Regions from separate parts of the Homo sapiens genome. Here regions 1, 2 and 3 are each linked to region 4. Evidence: promoter capture Hi-C in human tissues and cell types (Jung and others, 2019). All regions are on one chromosome and are shown on one strand. The core of a region is centred on a gene start or on the middle of the fragment in contact, and the rest is flanking DNA. Distances in the headings are between cores, read along the strand shown. Region 1 overlaps TLDC2 (TBC/LysM-associated domain containing 2). Region 2 overlaps DLGAP4 (DLG associated protein 4). Region 3 overlaps MTCL2 (microtubule crosslinking factor 2). Region 4 holds the start of SLA2 (Src like adaptor 2).

The links. The method cuts DNA at HindIII sites, captures the fragments that hold promoters and counts their contacts. A contact is called where the count stands out against the background at its distance.
Region 1: a fragment that was not itself captured here is called in contact with the fragment with the promoter of SLA2 in region 4 in 3 of the 25 tissues and cell types used here (IMR-90 fibroblasts, lymphoblastoid cells and spleen).
Region 2: a contact is called between a fragment that was not itself captured here and the fragment with the promoter of SLA2 in region 4, in 1 of the 25 tissues and cell types used here (spleen).
Region 3: a fragment that was not itself captured here is called in contact with the fragment with the promoter of SLA2 in region 4 in 1 of the 25 tissues and cell types used here (spleen).

The regions. Positions count from the first base shown.
Region 1 is chr20:36,885,835-36,890,308 of GRCh38, forward strand. TLDC2 (TBC/LysM-associated domain containing 2) reads left to right here. Exons shown (of 7, transcript NM_080628.3): 5 at 1,621-1,694; 6 at 3,417-3,569. The coding sequence ends at 3,552. It overlaps SAMHD1 (SAM and HD domain containing deoxynucleoside triphosphate triphosphohydrolase 1), which reads right to left. Exons shown (of 16, transcript NM_015474.4): 16 at 4,395-4,474. Among named protein-coding and RNA genes, the nearest start is that of TLDC2, 12 kb to the left of the region's middle. RefSeq lists an enhancer at 1,354-2,076. The HindIII fragment of the contact is 8,903 bases long and covers 1-4,474 here.
Region 2 is chr20:36,478,973-36,483,194 of GRCh38, forward strand. The region is part of intron 7 of DLGAP4 (DLG associated protein 4); the gene reads left to right. Among named protein-coding and RNA genes, the nearest start is that of MYL9, 60 kb to the right of the region's middle. The HindIII fragment of the contact is 6,952 bases long and covers 1-4,222 here.
Region 3 is chr20:36,806,175-36,810,287 of GRCh38, forward strand. It overlaps MTCL2 (microtubule crosslinking factor 2), which reads right to left. Exons shown (of 15, transcript NM_080627.4): 7 at 3,808-3,933; 8 at 2,339-2,569. Among named protein-coding and RNA genes, the nearest start is that of DSN1, 34 kb to the left of the region's middle. The HindIII fragment of the contact is 7,987 bases long and covers 1-4,113 here.
Region 4 is chr20:36,644,740-36,649,043 of GRCh38, forward strand. It overlaps SLA2 (Src like adaptor 2), which reads right to left and starts at 1,457. Exons shown (of 8, transcript NM_032214.4): 1 at 1,098-1,457. The HindIII fragment of the contact is 4,817 bases long and covers 1-2,899 here.

The DNA of each region.
Region 1 (4,474 bases), core at 1,269-3,768, 240 kb after region 4:
TCCTTAATATAAATAAATAAAGAGGAATGAAACAGGGTCTGGGAGGAAGGGCTACTTCAGATAGGGTGGTCCAGGAAATTTCTGAGATGATATTTGGGCTGAAGGATGAGAGGTGGGCCCTCTGAGGATCTAGGGGAAGAGCATTCTGGGCAGAGGGATTCTAGGTCAGGAATGGGCTTTGGGTGTTCCAGGGATGGAAAGACTGGTGTGGCTAATGTGTAGTCAATAAGGGGGAGAAGGGGCCAGAGAGAAAATCAGGGGTTAGAGCTGGCTGCACTTTTTAAGTTTTGACAGTTTTTTTGTTGTTTTTTAGAGTTGGGGTCTTGCGCTGTTATCCACGCTAGAGTGCAGTGGTGCGATCATAGCTCACTGCAGCCTCCACTCCTGGGCTCAAGTGATCCTTCCACCTTAGCCTCCCCAGTAGCTGGGACTATAGGTGCACACCACTGTGACCAGCTAGGTTTAAAAATTTGTTTTAGGGCCGGGCGCAGTGGCTCGAGCCTGTAATCCCAGCTCTTTGGGAGGCCAAGGCAGGCGGATCACGAGGTCAATAGATTGAGACCAGCCTGGGCAACATGGTGAAACCTGTTTCTACTAAAATACAAAAAGTTAGCCGGGCGTGGTGGTGCGTGCCTGTAGTCCCAGCCACTCAGGAGGCTGAGGCAGGGGAATCGTTTGAACTCAGGAGGCGGAGGTTGCAGTGAGCCAAGATTGCGCCACTGCACTCCAGCCTGGCAAAAGAGCGAGACTCTGTCTCAAAAGAGAGAGAAAAAAAATTTTTTTTAGAGATAGGGGAGGGTCTTACTATGTTGCCTTGGTTGGTCTAGAACTCCTGACCTCGAGGAAACTCCTGGCCTCAAGTGATCCTCCCGCCTCAGCCTACTGAGTAGCTGGGATTACAAGTGCACACCATCACACCTAGCTAGTTAAAAAATTGCTGGGATTACAGGCATGAGCCACTGCGCCAGTCCCAGGCTGCACTTCTGGCCATTGTTAAGGAGTTGAATTTTATCCCCATTGCAATGGGAAGCCATTGGAGGACTTAGGCAGAGGAGAGATAACATCTGATTTGGACGTAGAACAGATCACGCAGATTGCAGTGTGGGTATGGCTGTAGGTACAGACAGTGGATGCAGAGGGACCAGCTGGGAGGCTGTGATCCAGGCAGAGGACGGGATAGAAATGGCGGCAGGCCCGCTGTGTCTAGAGCTGCGAGGCTTGTTGATGAGCTGGATGTGAGGCAGCACTGAAGAGCAGGCGGGCTGGTGTTGTCCGGGTGAGAGTTAGTTAGAAGGGCAGTATCAGTTCCCACTCCTGGCCTGGACTGCTCCCCTCCTCCCTCCAGCTTTGGAAGCAGGAAGCCTCAGGGGTCGTTGTCCTATTCTAGAACAAAGAGGCTTCTAGGCTGTAGGAATTCAAACTAGAGGGCATGCGGTGGTGACTCCAAGGAGACTGAGAAGATAAACCCCAAGATCCCTGAGCCCGGAGTCCCACCTGCGGCTCGGTTGGGGCCTGGATGCTGTTCCCGCCACAACACTGCCATCCAGTGGTTCGGGGTCAAACTGCAAGGGCGGGACTCGCTCGCTTAGTAACCTGAGCCTTTCCCTATGTATCACCCAGGTCTTTAAGTGGACTGGAAGCAACTCTTTCTTTGTGAAGGGAGACTTGGATTCACTGATGATGGGCAGTGGCAGGTGAGTGTCTCAGTCTTCCCGAGTCTTGGGGCGGTCTGTGTTCTGGTCCCTTTCCCTCTGCCGAACTGCTGGGCTAGGCTGCCCTTGATGCAATGGCGAGGCTAGTGGGGAACTCTCAGGCCGTTCCCCTCATTGCTCAGCCTCCCAGCCAACCCCCTCAACCTCACGCTAAGCCAGTATTAAGGAGAAAGGATGCATGAGTGCCCCCACTGAAGTGTTACAGCTGGTGACAGTTTAGTCTGAATGTATGCAACTTTGGGAAAAGAATTCCACATGGTTGGATGAGACTAGCGTCAAGAGATGAGTGTGCCTCGTTTTTCCACCAGCCCAGGAATTGCAGGGGACATAACTCATTGCAGGAACCTCCCTCGGTGAGGACGGGGTAGAGAGAGGTAGGAAAAAAAAGTTGATCTCATCCTGGTGTGACCTTCACATTCAGGGGGCATGCGTCTTATCCTGAGGGCGGGGATGAGAGCATTGCTTGATTAGTACCAGGCAAATTCTTTGCTCTCCCAACTGCCTGAAAAGCCTCCACTGAGGGGCAGCTTGGCACAGAACACATCAGCCATTGCTGATCTGCAGGAATTCACTTCCTGGTTTCAGCCGAGGTTTTCTGTCAAATAAGGGGATTAGAATGGACGCTCTGAAGCATTTGGGCTCTCAGAGTTTGCACCCTGAGATGTACTAGCTTTGGTTAAAGAATTGCCATTTTGTTTTTTTTGAGACAGAGTCTCGCTCTGTCGCCCAGGCTGGAGTGCAGTGGTGTGATCTCAGCTCACCACACCCTCCGACTCCTGGGTTCAAGTGATTCTCCTGCCTCAGCGTCTCGAGTAGCTGGGACAACAGTTGCCCACCACCACGTCCGGCTAATTTTTGTATTAAGAATTGCTATCTTGGACCGAGCGTGGTGGCTTGTGCCTGTAATCCCAGCACTTTGGGAGGCCGAGGTGGGCGGATCACGAGGTCAGGAGATCGAGACCGTCCTGGCTAACATGGTGAAACCCCATCTCTACTAAAAATACAAAAAATCAGCCAGGCGTGGTGGTGGGCACCCGTAGTCCCAGCTACTCGGGAGGCTGAGGCAGGAGAATGGTGTGAACCCGGGAGGTGGAGCTTGCAGTGAGCCAAGATCGCGCCATTGCACTCCAGGCTGGGCGACAGAGCAAGACTCCTATCAAAAAAAAAAAAAAAAAAAAAAAATTGCCATCTTGACCAGGCGCAGTGGCTCACACCTGTAATCCCAGCACTTTGGGAGGCCAAGGCAGGCAGATCGCTTGAGGTCAGGAGTTCAAGACCAGCCTGGCCAACATAGCAAAACCCCATCTCTACTAAACATACAAAAATTAGCCAGGCATAGTGGTGGGCGGCCTGTAATACCAGCTACTAGGGAGGCTGAGGTAGGAAAATTGCTTGAACCCGGGAGGTGGAGGTTGTGGTGAGCCAGGGTCGTGCCACTGCACTCCAGCCTGGGTGACAAAGCAAGACTCCGTTTCAATAAATAAATAAATAAATAAATAAACAAATAAATAAATAAAGCTCTTAACCCCATGGGGAACAATGTGCTGAGTCCCCAATAATTCAGTATAAATTGCTTTAAGGGGCGATAAGACAGGTGAAACTGGGCTGCCGTCCTGGCATGGCCAAGAGCTGATGCTGGTGGCAGAGCCTGGGGGTTTCAGCACACAGGAGTGAGCCGCACCAAGACTGTCCTCTTCTCTCTAGTGGCCGGTTTGGGCTGTGGTTGGATGGAGACTTGTTCCGCGGGGGAAGCTCCCCTTGCCCGACCTTCAACAACGAGGTGCTGGCCCGGCAGGAGCAGTTCTGCATCCAGGAGCTGGAGGCTTGGCTTCTCAGCTGACAGCCCTGCGGCAACAGGTACTCAGCCCTGCTCATGATGCCACCCAGGCCTTCCTGACACACAGCAGCCTGTGCTGTTTGAAACACAGATGGTGAAGGGCCCTAGAGTTGGCCGAGGCTGCTGGCCAGCCTCCTTGTGGCCTGGGGACCCAAGATACAGGTGGGGGCAGGCACTGCTCTTTTGCAGAGGTGACTTTGAAGGATTAAAAGACGCTTACACCTTACTCAAGCAGCACAGAGACCCTAAGCTAACAGGGTCTTAGAAAACTCAGAAAAATCCACATCTCTTCCCCGCTAGTGCCTGCCTCCTGGCAAAGGGAAGATTTTTCACTATGCTGTTCCTCGCCAGCTACTGAACGAGGAAAACCAACCTCATGAACATTATCATTTTAGAGGTTCTACAACTGATTCATGTTTATTGTAGAAAAACCAGAAGACGTTAAAAAAATTAAAATTGCCTAAAATTCAACCCCCCCCAACTCTTAACATTTTCATGTATATCCTTCCAGACAATGTTCCATGAATGTGTGTGTGTGTGTGTGTGTATACTTACAAAAACAGGATTCTACTCTGTATGTGTGGAAATGATTTTAACTTACAGAATATTGTCAAACCTTAGAAACCTGGGCTTGAGCACTGGAACTAATAAATACTGTAGCAGCGTCGTTCCTCCTCTGGCCTGCTGCAGAATGTTGAGGCCTTTTTGTCTGCCACCAGTGCCAGGTGCTTGTGAGTCTGTTATTTAATTTCACAATGAAGGTATGAAAGGAGTAAATGAGTAATATGCATTTTTGGACAAAGAGGTCGAAACCTTTGTGGAACACAACTTTCAAGATGGAGATATATATTCACGAAGCTTTATTGCAGCTGTTTCCCTTACCCAGTTGAAGTGGCCAGTCATTTTAATTTGCAGTTCTATTTAC
Region 2 (4,222 bases), core at 1,293-3,792, 160 kb before region 4:
ACTGTGATTATTAGCCACTAATGTTCAGCCACTCCTCAGTGTGGCTGACCCTGTGCCATTGTTGGGGCAGAGTTCTATGGACAGGATGGGGTGGTTGGTGACCTTCTGATTGGTAGATGTTCTTTCAAAGACATCTTCCCAGATGTTACCATGTTGTGCTTTCAGAGGTAGTTGAGAGGAACGTTGAGTGGGGCGGGCTCTGTGGGCATGAGGGGACATATAGTCAAGACTTGTTCCAGCATCACTGTCATCTGCTTGCCAAGTTGTCTCTTACTCTTCTCTACTTAGAGTCTTCAAAGTCTTCTAGGATGAGGGCTCTGCCAGCCTGTGTCATTTTTAGGGTGAAATGAGAGGGTGGGGTTCTGCCTCCTAAGTGTCAACAGGCATTCACCTGGGTACCTCTTTTGAGCCAGGATTGGAGGTCACAGGGATGCCACCCTGCCTTCAGGAGGCTCAGGGTCTAAAGGAGGAAGCAGAAAAGTAAAGAGGTTTGTAAAAATAGTGTGGTGGGCAAGGGCCTGTGGTGTGCCTGAATGTGGGATGTTGTTCAGTGAGTGAGCCAGGGCAGGGGCCTGGGAAGACTGTTAGGGAAGGCTTTTTGGCAGGAGTGATGCTGGAACTGATACCTAAAGGAGGAGGCAGAATCAGTGAGGAAGAGGGTGTTCAGGCAGCACAGAGGCCTGGAAGCTGAGCATGGTGTGTTGGCATGAAGGGGGTGATGGAGAGTTAGAGGGGTGATTGACAAGGCAGAGAGGCCAGTGGTCCCTACACTAAAATGTTAGAATGGTGCTGCTACAGTGCGGTGTCGAGGGGCTGGATGGTTGGGGGTGCTGGGCAGGGCAATGAATCTTCCCGAACTTAGTCCTTGGACAGGATGAGACCCCTCATTTCTGCCCCAGGCCAGAAATCCTCAGCTTCTGGCATGCAGAGTCCATGGAGGGCCTGGGATTGGGCAGCAGCTCCGTGGGCCCTTTGCTCAGGAGATGTTTAGGCTCCTCAGGCAATTGTAATGACAGTTCCTCACCTGCCAAGCCCTTTCCCACCTGTCTTGGGAAACTCACAGCAGTCCTAGGGCAATAGACAGGGCAAGCCGCATTATTCTCATTTTATAGATGGGAGAAATTCAGACCCAGGAGCTTAAGTCATACACTGAATGAAGGCTGATTCCAGGGATTCCTAACCTACTGGCAGTTTCTGTCATAGCAGGTATTTTGAAGGGGGCAGGGTAGCAAGTATCAGCTGATCTCCTATTCTGAGGATGGATTTATCATCTCAGATGGGAGCTCTTATGCAGCTAGACTTCCCAGACGAAGGTGTTTTACTTCCAGACTTTGCTGTCTGAAGCCCTGGTGTTAGTCCTCACAAGATTTCCCGTGTGGCTAGGCTGTGTGAACATTCTCATTTTGTATTTCGCTGTTTGTTGATAACAATTCTCCGGAGGTAGGGGGGTAAAAAAGACCAGTGGCTCACGCCTGTAATCCCAGCACTTGGAAGACCAGGGTGAGATGATGGCTTGAGCCCAGGAGTTTGAGATCAGTCTGGGCAACATAGTGAGACCCTGTCTCTACAAAAAATTAAAATTAAAAAAATTAGTCAGGAGCAGTGGTACATGTCTGTAGTCCTAGCTACTCGGGAGGCTGACGTGGGAGGATCACTTGAGCCCAGGAAGTTGAAGCTACAGTGAACTATGATCACACCCTGTACTCCAGCCTAGGTGACAGAGTGAAACCCTGTCTCTAAACAAAAAGTTGGCTGGGCACGGTAACTCAACGCCTGTAATCCCAGCACTTCAGGAGGCCTAGGTGGAAAAATTGCTTAAGCCCAGGAGTTCTAGTACAGCATGGGCAACATAGTGAGACCTCATCTCTACAAAAACTAAAAAAATTAGCCAGGCATGGTGGTGCACCCCTGTGGTTCCAGTTACTTGGGAGGCTGAGGTGAGAGGATTGCTTGAGCCCGGGCTATCAAGGCTGCAGTGAGCTGTGATCATACCACTGCACTCCAGCCTGGATGACAGTGAGACTGTCTCAAAAAAAAAATGTTGAACTATGAATGTCATGCACACAAAGATGATGTGTGGTATCACGTCCAGAACTGGATGTAAAGTAGAAGGGCAAAGAGCGTCTCAGGCCCGGTAGGAATCTTAAAAGTCACACCCATGGGGACTTCAGTTTCCTCCCTGGCATCCATCCTGCCTGTGTCTAGCCTGGCTGGCCATTTTCTAGGTCCTTCTTCCATCTTTGGCCAGCTCTGCTTCTTAGAAAGCTCCTCTTTATAATTAGTCAAAATTTACTTCCATTAACAATCCCCACCTTCCTTTTCCCCTCTGATTGTAGTGTGACCCTCTGGGGCTACATGTGTATTTGACAGTCTTTTAGGTATTTGAGGACAGTAGCCATGCCCTTTTAAATTGTCTCTCTTCTCCAGGGTGACCATCCTAGCCTCTCCAAGCCATCCCTCACTTTACGCTAAGCACAACTTTTGGTGCATATGTGTCACACGCCCCGTTTGTGACAAGTCCGTCCCAGACACACTAATCACTTGTTGAATCAGTCCTGGGCTTTCTCATGCAACTCCATATGGCTGCCACAGTGCCCAGTCAGTGGAGGAGGCTTTTCATTGTCATCTCCACATTTCTATGGGTTTCTTGAGGACAAGGACTACTCATTCTGGGTCCCTAGTGGCTGGCACTGTGCATGGCTTTCCCTCTGTAAATAAGCATTTGCTGGAATGGGGTGGAGTTGAGACTTCTCCCTGTGTGGATCACCTTCTGTCTTCAGGTTCCAGTTTGACGATATCCCTTGCCTGGAATTACCTATGATACCCTCAGTATTATCCAGAGTTCAGTGGGGACTGCGCCCTCTCTGGTCCTGTGACTTTCCTGTAACAGTGCATCCTCAGTGTCTGTGGTCAGCTGACGTCACTAAGCCATTTTTCCACATATGCCGCTTTTCTTGTGTAATTGTCTTACTTGGGTTCCCAAACTCAGGGTCTTAATATAAGCTCTGAGGGAAAAAAAATCCCTCTGTTTTTCTGTGTCTCTGTCCCCCGGGTGTGCCTGGCACAGAGACAGGCAGCATTACCTCTGCTGACCTGAAGTGAACTCACGGTTTTCCCCATTCAGTCCTGCACTATTCGTCTCATCCCAACTCTAGGCTGCCGAGGGATCTTGGCTCCTACTCCTGTCACCTGATATGCCACCTGCCACTCCAGGCCCAGTGAATGAGCTTGTTAACACTGCCTTTCTATTCTGGGATTCGCTTGGTCATTCAGAATGGTGAAAGAGGCCAGCAATCGAGGTGCACAGGGCCTGGCAGCGTCTGGCTTTGCACACTGGACACACAGCCTATGACAGTTGGTGAAAGCCGGGCTTTTGTGACCTATCGCCAGGGTTTGAAGTCAGCCCTCCATTGACATCAGCCCTCCAGAAGTGAGGGTAGTTTTTTTGAGGCTCTTTCCAAGTAATACTTCCCAGGCTGGGCTCTGGGATCTTAGGGCTTTGGAAAGGTAGCAGCAAAGCTCGTATGATACAGCCAGTATTTGAAAAGCCACATTTTGCATTCTCTACCCTCAGTCCTTCACCAGACCAAGCGGGCTGCACATGTCAAGTTTTTGCACTGGGCTGGAGCCGAGGCAGCTTTGTAACTGGGCGGTTTCTCCTGCTTACTAGCACCTGCTTCTCGTGGGTTGTTTTTTTGTTTTTGTTTTTGTTTTTTTGAGACAGGGTCTAACTCTGTTGTCCAGGCTGGAGTGCAGTGGCATGATCTTGGTTCACTACAACCTCTGTCTCCCGGGTTCAAGTGATCCCCACACCTCAGCCTCCTGAGTAGCTGGGATTACTGGCATGAGATACCATGCCCGGCTAATTTTTGTATTTTTAGTAGAGACAGGGTTTCACCATGTTGGCCAGGCTGGTCTCAAACTCCTGACCTCAAGTGATCCCCCTGCCTCAGCCTCCCAAATCGCTGAGATTACAGGCATGAGCCACCATGCCCGGCCAAATGGTTATAGCTTTGATAAACAACAAGATCGTGATTTAGTAACAGTAGCTTGGGCGCTACCATCTCTTTAAAGCTTGGATTCCTAGGGATGATGGTAATAAGGTGTCCAGGGTGGGCTGGGGCAGGGACCACTGAGCAGAGCTCTTGGCAGAGCAGACTCTGCAGGTGGGTCTCTGAGGATAAATAAAATGATGTTTGTGGCAGATTCCAATACATAATGG
Region 3 (4,113 bases), core at 513-3,012, 160 kb after region 4:
AATGAAAAGGCCACACGCACTCCCACAATGCTACATAAGGGTGACCAAAGGTTTGGGTGGACAGAAGGGACCTTGCTGGGGGGTTGGACTGCTTGCTGATAGATTCTGGGCAAGAGTCCAGGGCCAGCCAAGGAGATCAGGGACCTAGTTCAGGATGGAAATAAGACAAAAGGGAGCGAGTCACCTTCTGTGCTCAAGCAATCCTCCTGCCTCAGCCTCCCAAAATGCTGGGATTACAGGCGCGAGCCACCATGCCCAGCATGATTATGTTTATATCTTATTAATTATGCTTATTTTGGTAAATGTATATATTTCTTAATTATATATGTTATGTAATTTTCTGTGTCTCTTTATTTTTTTTTTGAGATGGAGTCTCACTGTGTCATCCAGGCTAGAGTGCAATGGCATGCTCTTAGCTCACTGCAACCTCTGCCTTGCAGGTTCAAGAGATTCTCTTGCTTCAGGCTCCTGAGTAGCTGGGACTACCAGTGTGCACCACCGTTCCCAGCTAATTTTTGTATTTTTAGTAGAGACAGGGTTTCATCACGTTGACCAGACTGGTCTCGAACTCCTGATCTCAAGTGATCTGCCCACCTTAACCTCCCAAAGTGCTGAGATTACAGGTGTGAGCCACTGCACCTAGCCAATTTTCTATGTTTATGCCCTAATTTTTTTTCCCTAAAGTAAGTTTCTCTCTCTTTTACTCTAGGATATGGAAATGGCTAGAAAGGTTTTCACCAAATGTGGAGGGTTCGTCTGAGACAAACTGACTTAAAATATAGACTGTGTGGCCTGCAGGTCATTCCCTTAAACTGGGCTTCATCCAGAGGCCTGTGAGACTTCCAAACAGGTGAGAGGGCTCCTATGTTTCCAAACGTCACAGAAGAGACAGCTTCGGACAGGAGGACCGAGGCGAATGCTCCCAGGGGCGGCCCTGTGTCAGGCACTGCAGGGCCAGGGCAGCAGGGTGTGGGCCTATGGAATGGCGGTAGTGACTCTCCCATGAGGCCCTGGGGAGGAGCTGGTGGCCTGCGAGAATGATGAGCCCCACTGAGATAGGGTGATGCAGGGTCTTGCTACACACTCAGGTCTAACTGTCTTGCCTGGCTCCTGGGGCATCTGGGCTCCTCTGGAGTACCCCTGATGGCGTAAGTGGCAACTTGAGGCATGCCAATGCTCCCTACTGGATCTGGACAGGGGACTACAGAGAGCAGCCTGGACTAGAGGAGGGCCAAGCCTGGGCTAGACTCGAGGTACCTGAACCCAAAAGGACACGGCCAAAGTGAACAATGTCAACTAAGATGAGTGTGACCAAGGTCTGACATCCTTGTAAGTCCCCTTCTCTTCCCTGATGTGTTGATGTGTGCTGCTGTGCTGATGACAGGACGCAAGGGCTTTGAGCAGCAAAGGGTCCTGCATAGACTGGGGCATGAATGGGTCAGGTGGGTCCTTTCTAAGCTTCTTACATTCCCAGAGCTCCGCCCCCACGTTTCCTGCCACATCCTAATACCACCTGTACTATCACCAATGTTTTTAAGCCAGCCTACTCCCTCTTGTTAAGTAAACATATCTTTTGGCCAGGCATGGTGGCTCATGCCTGTAATCCCAGCACTTTGGGAGGCCAAGGCAGGTGGATTACTTGAGGTCAGGAGTTTGAGAGATCAGCCTGGCCAACATGGAGAAACCCTGTCTTTTTTTTTTTTTTTTTTTTTTTTTTTTGAGAAGGAGTCTTGCTCTCTCTCCCACTCTGGAGTGCAGTGGCACAATCTAGGCTCACTGCAAGCTCCGCCTCCTGGGTTCACGCCATTCTCCCGCCTCAGCCTCCCGAGTAGCTGGGACTACAGGCACCCGCCACCACACCTGGCTAATTTTTTGTATTTTTAGTAGAGACGGGGTTTCACCATGTTAGCCAGGATGGTCTCGATCTCCTGACCTCGTGATCCACCCGCCTCGGCCTCCCAAAGTGCTGGGATTACAGGTGTGAGCCACCGCACCCGGCCAAGAAACCCTGTCTTTACTTAAAATACAAAAATTAGCTGGGCATGGTGGCATGTGCCTGTAATCCCAGCTACTCGGGAGGCTGAGGCAGGAGAATTGCTTGAACCCGGGAGATGGAGATTGCAGCAGGCTGAGATTGCACCACTGCACTCTAGCCTGGGCTGGAGTGAGACTCCATCTCGGAAAAAAAAAAAAAAAAGCAACGAATGCAGGAAGGAAGCCTGCATGCTGATGGCAGGTATGTGAGCCTAGGAGTTGTGTCAATACCAGCTGGGCGTCCCTTCCCTGTCCCTCTCTCCCCAGCCCACACTCCCAGTCCCAGTCCCTGGCCCAATCTTACCTCGAGGAAGTCATCCCCTTCGCTGGGCAAAACCTTGCCCTGCCGCCAGCGCTTGAGGAACCACCTGAGCTTCATGAAGAGCAGCAGGAAGTTGTGCTTGAATTGCTGGGACTCCTGCACCAGCATGTTCTTCTCCTGGCTCCAGAATTTCTGCTCCAGCCTCCGCTGGAGGCTCAGACTCTGCAGCTCAAACTCCCGCCTCAGGAGCGCCCTCTGCTGGTCCTCCTTCAGCTGCCGGGGGACAAGAGCTTGAGCAACCCCAGGGCCCTGTCCTCTCCCCCACCCCTTTCTGGGCCCCTGGACAGGGGCAGGGAGGAAAGTCTGGGTGGTGCCTGTGAGTGATCCCTGCCGGGGATCCCACCACACGTGGCGCAATCTATTCAGATGAGCACTGCCCTCTGCTCCTGCAAAAACAGTGACACATCATTGAAGGAGCTGGGATTTGACCCTGGCTCTAAAAAACCATGACATCATATACTGAGCACCTCCTGGGCACCAAATGTCTCACACGAATGCTCATGTTCAATGAGGAACCTGCGAGGGTGAGCGATGATAGCAGGGAGGGGTGACGCATGGAGAGCAAAGGGCGTGCCAGGGTTGAGGACAGCTGATGACTAGGCAACACCCTAGGAAGCAATGCAGTGTCATGCCTAACAGAGGGACCTGGATTAGAGGCCCAGCCCTGCCACACTCTGGATGTGCAACCCTGGGCAGAGCACTCCAGCTCTCTGGGCATCAGTTTCCCCATCTGCAAAATGGTGATAAGGGAGGGCACAAGGATTAAAAGACATAATGGGTAGAAAGTGCATTGGACAGGCCCACCATACAGTAAGGGCTTAACAAATGTTATTCCAGAACTATTATCTTGATTAGAAGCCAGGCCTGATGAGGGCACCATTTCATAAATGGGAAACTGAGGTCCTGAGAGAAAACAGGACTGGCCCCAGGTCCCACAGGCCGCCAATGACAGCCCTGTTACACAACTAATGCACAATGGCAAGGACAATAACATCCCAGCAGGGCACAGGGGCTGAAGACTCAGGTTTCCCTTGACATTCTTTCATTCTTTTTTTTTTTTTTTTTTTTTAGATATCACTCTGTCACCCAGGCTAGAATACAGTGGGATGATCTCGGCTCACTGTAACCTCCGCCTCCTGGGTTCAAGCGGTTCTCTTGCCTCAGCCTCCTGAGTAGCTGGGATTACAGGCGTGCTAGTGCACGCCTGGCTAATTTTTGTATTTTTAGTAGAGGCGGGGTTTCCATGTTGGCCAGGCTGGTCTCAAACTCCTGGCCTCAAGTGATCTGCCTGCCTTGGCCTCCCAAAGTGCTGGGATTACAGGCGTGAGCCACCACACCCAGCCTCCCCTGACTTTCTTGACTTCAGAGGGCCCATAGATCCTCAAGGCCTCTGCTTCCAGCTCAGAGAGGCTGTAGGAATAGCTGCCTGGAAAGCGCTGGGCACCACGCACCTGGACCATTTTCTGGTTGAAATTGTCGGCCTCCTCCTTTCGTAGCTGCCGCTCCTGGGAGAGCTGCTCTTGCAAGCCCCGGAGGCTGTCGTGGGCCTCAGCCAGCACCAGCTGCAGCTCCTTGATCTGTGGTACAGACAGGGGACACAGATAATGAGGAGGGAGAGAGAGGAAGAAGTGGATAGAAATTGTGATCTAAGGATGACAGTGGTAGGGGAACGATGGGATGTTGGACCCAAGCTGTCCAAATACAAATCAGGCAGAATGACTGTCCCCACCTCTGAGGGTCGTCATGATGATTAAATG
Region 4 (4,304 bases), core at 207-2,706:
TCATTAACTCTACAAATTTTTGAAAAACTTACTATGTGCCAGGCACTTTCCGGAGGACATGAGGCATCGGGTGAAAGGAAAAAGTTAGTCAACGGCAGCCGAGATGAGCACGCTGCCCAGAATATTGTGTTTTTTTTTTTTTTTTTTTTTTCAGTATCTCACTTGGGTCCCATTTCAGATACAGTGACCAAGTCCCTGAGAGGACAACCATGTGATTCTGTTCATGTAGCCCATTCGTGCAGGACTGGGCCTGCCATCATGTGTATTTTGTGCTTCTGAAGATCATTTTTCAGCAGTGGGGGTAAGAGTGATGAATTTGGCCAGGCACAGTGGCTCATGCCTGTAATCCCAGCAATTTAGGAGGCTGAGACAGGAGGATTGCTTGAGGCCAGGAGTTCGAGACCAGCCTGGGCAACATAGTGAGAACCCCCACCCCCACCCCCACCACCGCCTGCCATCTCTACAAAAATATAACGAATTAGCTGGGCATGGTGGTACATGCCTGTAGTCTCAGCTACTTGGGAGGCTAAGGCAGGAGGATCACTTGAGCCCAGTGGTTCAAGTCTATAGTTAGTCATAATTACGCCGCTGCACTCCAGCCTGGGTAACAGAATGAGACCCCAACTCAAAAAAAAAAATGAATTTGGATTGAGTTAAAGGGAGACCTCTCCCTCTCTTCCAATTGAGAAATATCACCCCTTTGAGAGTGAGAGTGCACTGTAGGCTCTACAGCTGAAATGTCTTGAGAGATGGTAGCCCTCACGTTCCTGACTTTGGAGTCTGACTGCAGCGCAGAGAGGGGCCCAAAGTCACACAGCAAGTGCGCACCTGAGATGGGACTAGGACGGGCGTGAAGACAAGCTGCACGGAAGAGCGTAAGCTCCAAGAGGAGGTCAAAGGTGGAGCAGGTGAGTCTTGGTTCTTCTGGGACCCCCAGAAACCACCCCTCTTTACAGCCTCAGTAGAACCACTCCCCCTTCTCCTTGAGCTTGTTTTTTTCCCAACAGCAAATAAAGCCCAGTCCCAGTCGGGGCAGGGGAGACCATTCTTCCTCACCTGTCTCCAGGCCATCCAAGAACAAAAGCAAGCATACTTACTGGTTTGTCATCAAAGGCTTGGGAAGACAGCTCTGCTGAGACGCATGCTCTGGCTGGACAGGTTAGGGCTTTGGGGGCCCTTCTGGAAGTCTGCCAGTGTCCTTGGTCCTAGGACACCCAGAACTCTCTCAGCCTGGGAGGATCTTCAGGGAGAGGCTAGGTGTTGGTTTGGGTAGCTCAGCATCTGTCTGCAGTCAGCAGTTTGTACACCAGGGATGGATCAGCTGCCCCATGCTCCTTAGGGATTCTGGACTGGGGAACCCTCCCAAGCACAGCCGAGCCAGGGAGGGAAGGCCCAGGGCCCTTTGAGCTCTGTCACAGAGACACAGGCGTGGGGTCCTTGGAGCTCTAGCTCCGACTGCAGACTCTGTGGTTCTCACAACCACCCGTTTCCTCTGACGGCATCACAGACCGTCGAGGAGCCACCTTCCCCAAGTTCCTGTTTCTAGGGGAGCAGCTGCTGCCTTGTCATGATCGTGGAGCAAAAGGTTTTTCTCTGGCTTTGTGGCTTAGTCTTGTCCAAGGAACACAGGACTGAGGAAAATGAGCCGGAGTTCCCATGCTGGCCTGACCATAATAATCACTCAGCGGGACTTAATTGTAGCAATTTCTGGGATCTCCCAAACTTTCTAAATCCAAGTCTCCAGATAGGGAGCCCAGGAATCTAAATTTTAAACCCTGCAGGAGATTCCCTTGACTGACGAGTGTGGGAAGCACTGCCTTCTCAGCCTTTAATGTGTATAGGAATCACCTGGGGATCTTGTTGCACTGCAGGCTCTGATTCAGAAGGTCTGGGGCAGAGTTCAGTATTTTGCATTTCTAATACGCTCCCAGGTGACCCCCATGTTGCCAGTCTGGGGACCACACTTTGAATAGCAGCAGTATCTGGACAGTGGTCTCCAAGTATGGTCCCTAGACCAGCAGCCTCAGCGGGAATTTGTTAGACATGCAAATTCTCAGGCCGCATCCCAGATCTATGGAATCATACTCTGGAGGTAGGCCCAGCAATCTGTTTTCATGCCTCCAGGTGATTCCGATGCATGCCCAGGCTTGATTTTTTTTTTTTTTTTTTTTTTTTTTTTTTTACAGGGTCTTGCTTTGTCACCCAGGATAGAGTGCAGTGGCACAATCATAGCTTAGTGCAGCCTTGACCCAGGCTCAAGTAATCCTCCCTTCTCAGCCTTGAGTAGCTAGGACTACAGGTGTGCACCAGCACTCCTGGCTAATTTTAAATTTTTTTTGTACAGATGAGGTTTCACTGTGCTGCTCCATCTAATCTCAAACTCCTGGCCTCAATTGTTCCTCCCACTTCCACCTCCCTAAGTGTTGGGATTACAAGCATGAGCCACAGTCCATGCCCAAGCTTGAGAATCACTGGTCTAGGATAAAGAATCTGACTCTGGCTGAATTGTCTTTGATCAGTGTGTTACCTTCAGTCCCACTCTTCATTAAGATTTAACCACACCCTCTCGCTGCTTCCCCATTAGGGGGATTAGTACTCTTGGAGACAAAGGGCCCACTGCACTGAAATGATTCCTGACTCCAGCTCAGCCCATGCAGCCCTTTCTGGGGCCTTGCCAGCTACAGCACTCCTGCTCAGGTTCTCCTTTGATCCTAGGGAAGGCTGGTTTGATTTTTATCCTTGTAGGCACTTGGCACACAGAGCTGAAGGAGCCAGAGTGGAGGCACACTTCTGCAAGAGAGTTCTAATCAGGACGTTAGAATGGGTGACAGCCACTCAGGGATGTGGGCCTTGGCAGGGAGGGACTTGAGCTTGAGCCCACCTTCCCACTCCTGCTGCCATACAACTGTAATGCCCGTCTTCTTATGATACGCACATCTTCAAAACAAGCCTCAAGGTGCAGTTCATGAATGGGGCAGGAAGTAGGGAATCTCTGGTCTCTTCTTAAAAGAATCCCACGGCATAACTCTCCTTTTCTACTTAGGGAGGCACCTAAGAATTACAAAATTTAAAATCCTAGGTCTATCCACTAAGAAATATGCACTGGTGTTCCTCCCTGGCTCCTGGCCAGAGCTGCTAAAACCCTTCTAATTTCCTCGGTGACAGAAGTGTTTTCTGTTCTAATGAGGCAACACTTGGTGGGCTCCTGGATGGGGACTGGTCACTAGAAAGACAAAGCCATCATTATGAGCTTGGGGCTTTCAGTCCCACCTCATCCTCTGGAGTGGGGAGAGGAGCTCGAGATTGAGTTAATAATTGATAATGCTTATGTGATGAAGCTTCCATAAAAATCCCTAAAGTACGAGGTTCAGAGAGTTTCCAGGTTGGTGAACACATCCAACACACCAGAAGGGTGGCACACCCCAACTCCCTGGGACCCCTCCAGACCTTGCTCTATGTATTATTATTATTATTTTTAGACAGATTCTTGCTCTGTTGTCCAGACTGGAGTGGAGTGGCACAATTTAGGCTCACCGCATCCTCTGCCTCCCGGGTTCAAGCAATCCTCTTGCCCCAGCCTCCTGAGTAGCTGGGATTACAGGTGTGCACCACCACGCCCAGCTAATTTTTGTATTTTTAGTAGAGACGGGGTTTCATCATGTTAGCCAGGCTGGTCTCGAACTCCTGACCTCAGGTGATCCACCCGCCTTGGCTTCCCAAAGTGCTGGGATTACAGGCTTGAGCCACTGTGTCCAGCCTCCTACATACTTCTTTATCTGGCCATTTACCTGTATCCTTTATCGTATCCTTTTTTTTTTTTTTTGAGACAGAGTCTTGCTCTGTCACCCAGGCTGGAGTGCAGTGGCGCAATCTCGGCTCACTGCAAGCTCCGCCTCCCGGGTTCATACCATTCTCCTGTCTCAGCCTCCTGAGTAGCTGGGACTACAGGCACCCACCACCACACCCAGCTAACTTTTTGTATTTTTAGTAGAGACGGGGTTTCACCGTGTTAGCCAGGATGGTCTCAATCTCCTGACCTCGTGATCCACCCACCTCGGCCTCCCAAAGTTCTGGGATTACAGGCGTGAGCCACCGTGCCCAGCCTATCGTATCCTTTTTATTTTATTTTTTTCTGTTTCTAGAATACAGACAGGGTCTCACTATATTGCCCAGGCTGGTCTTGAACTCCTGGGCTCAAGCAGTCCTCCTGCCTCCCAAACTGCTGGGATTACAGGTGTGAGCCACTGCACCCAGCCTCATATCCTTTTGAATAATAAACCGGTAAATTCAGTGTTTCCCTGAGT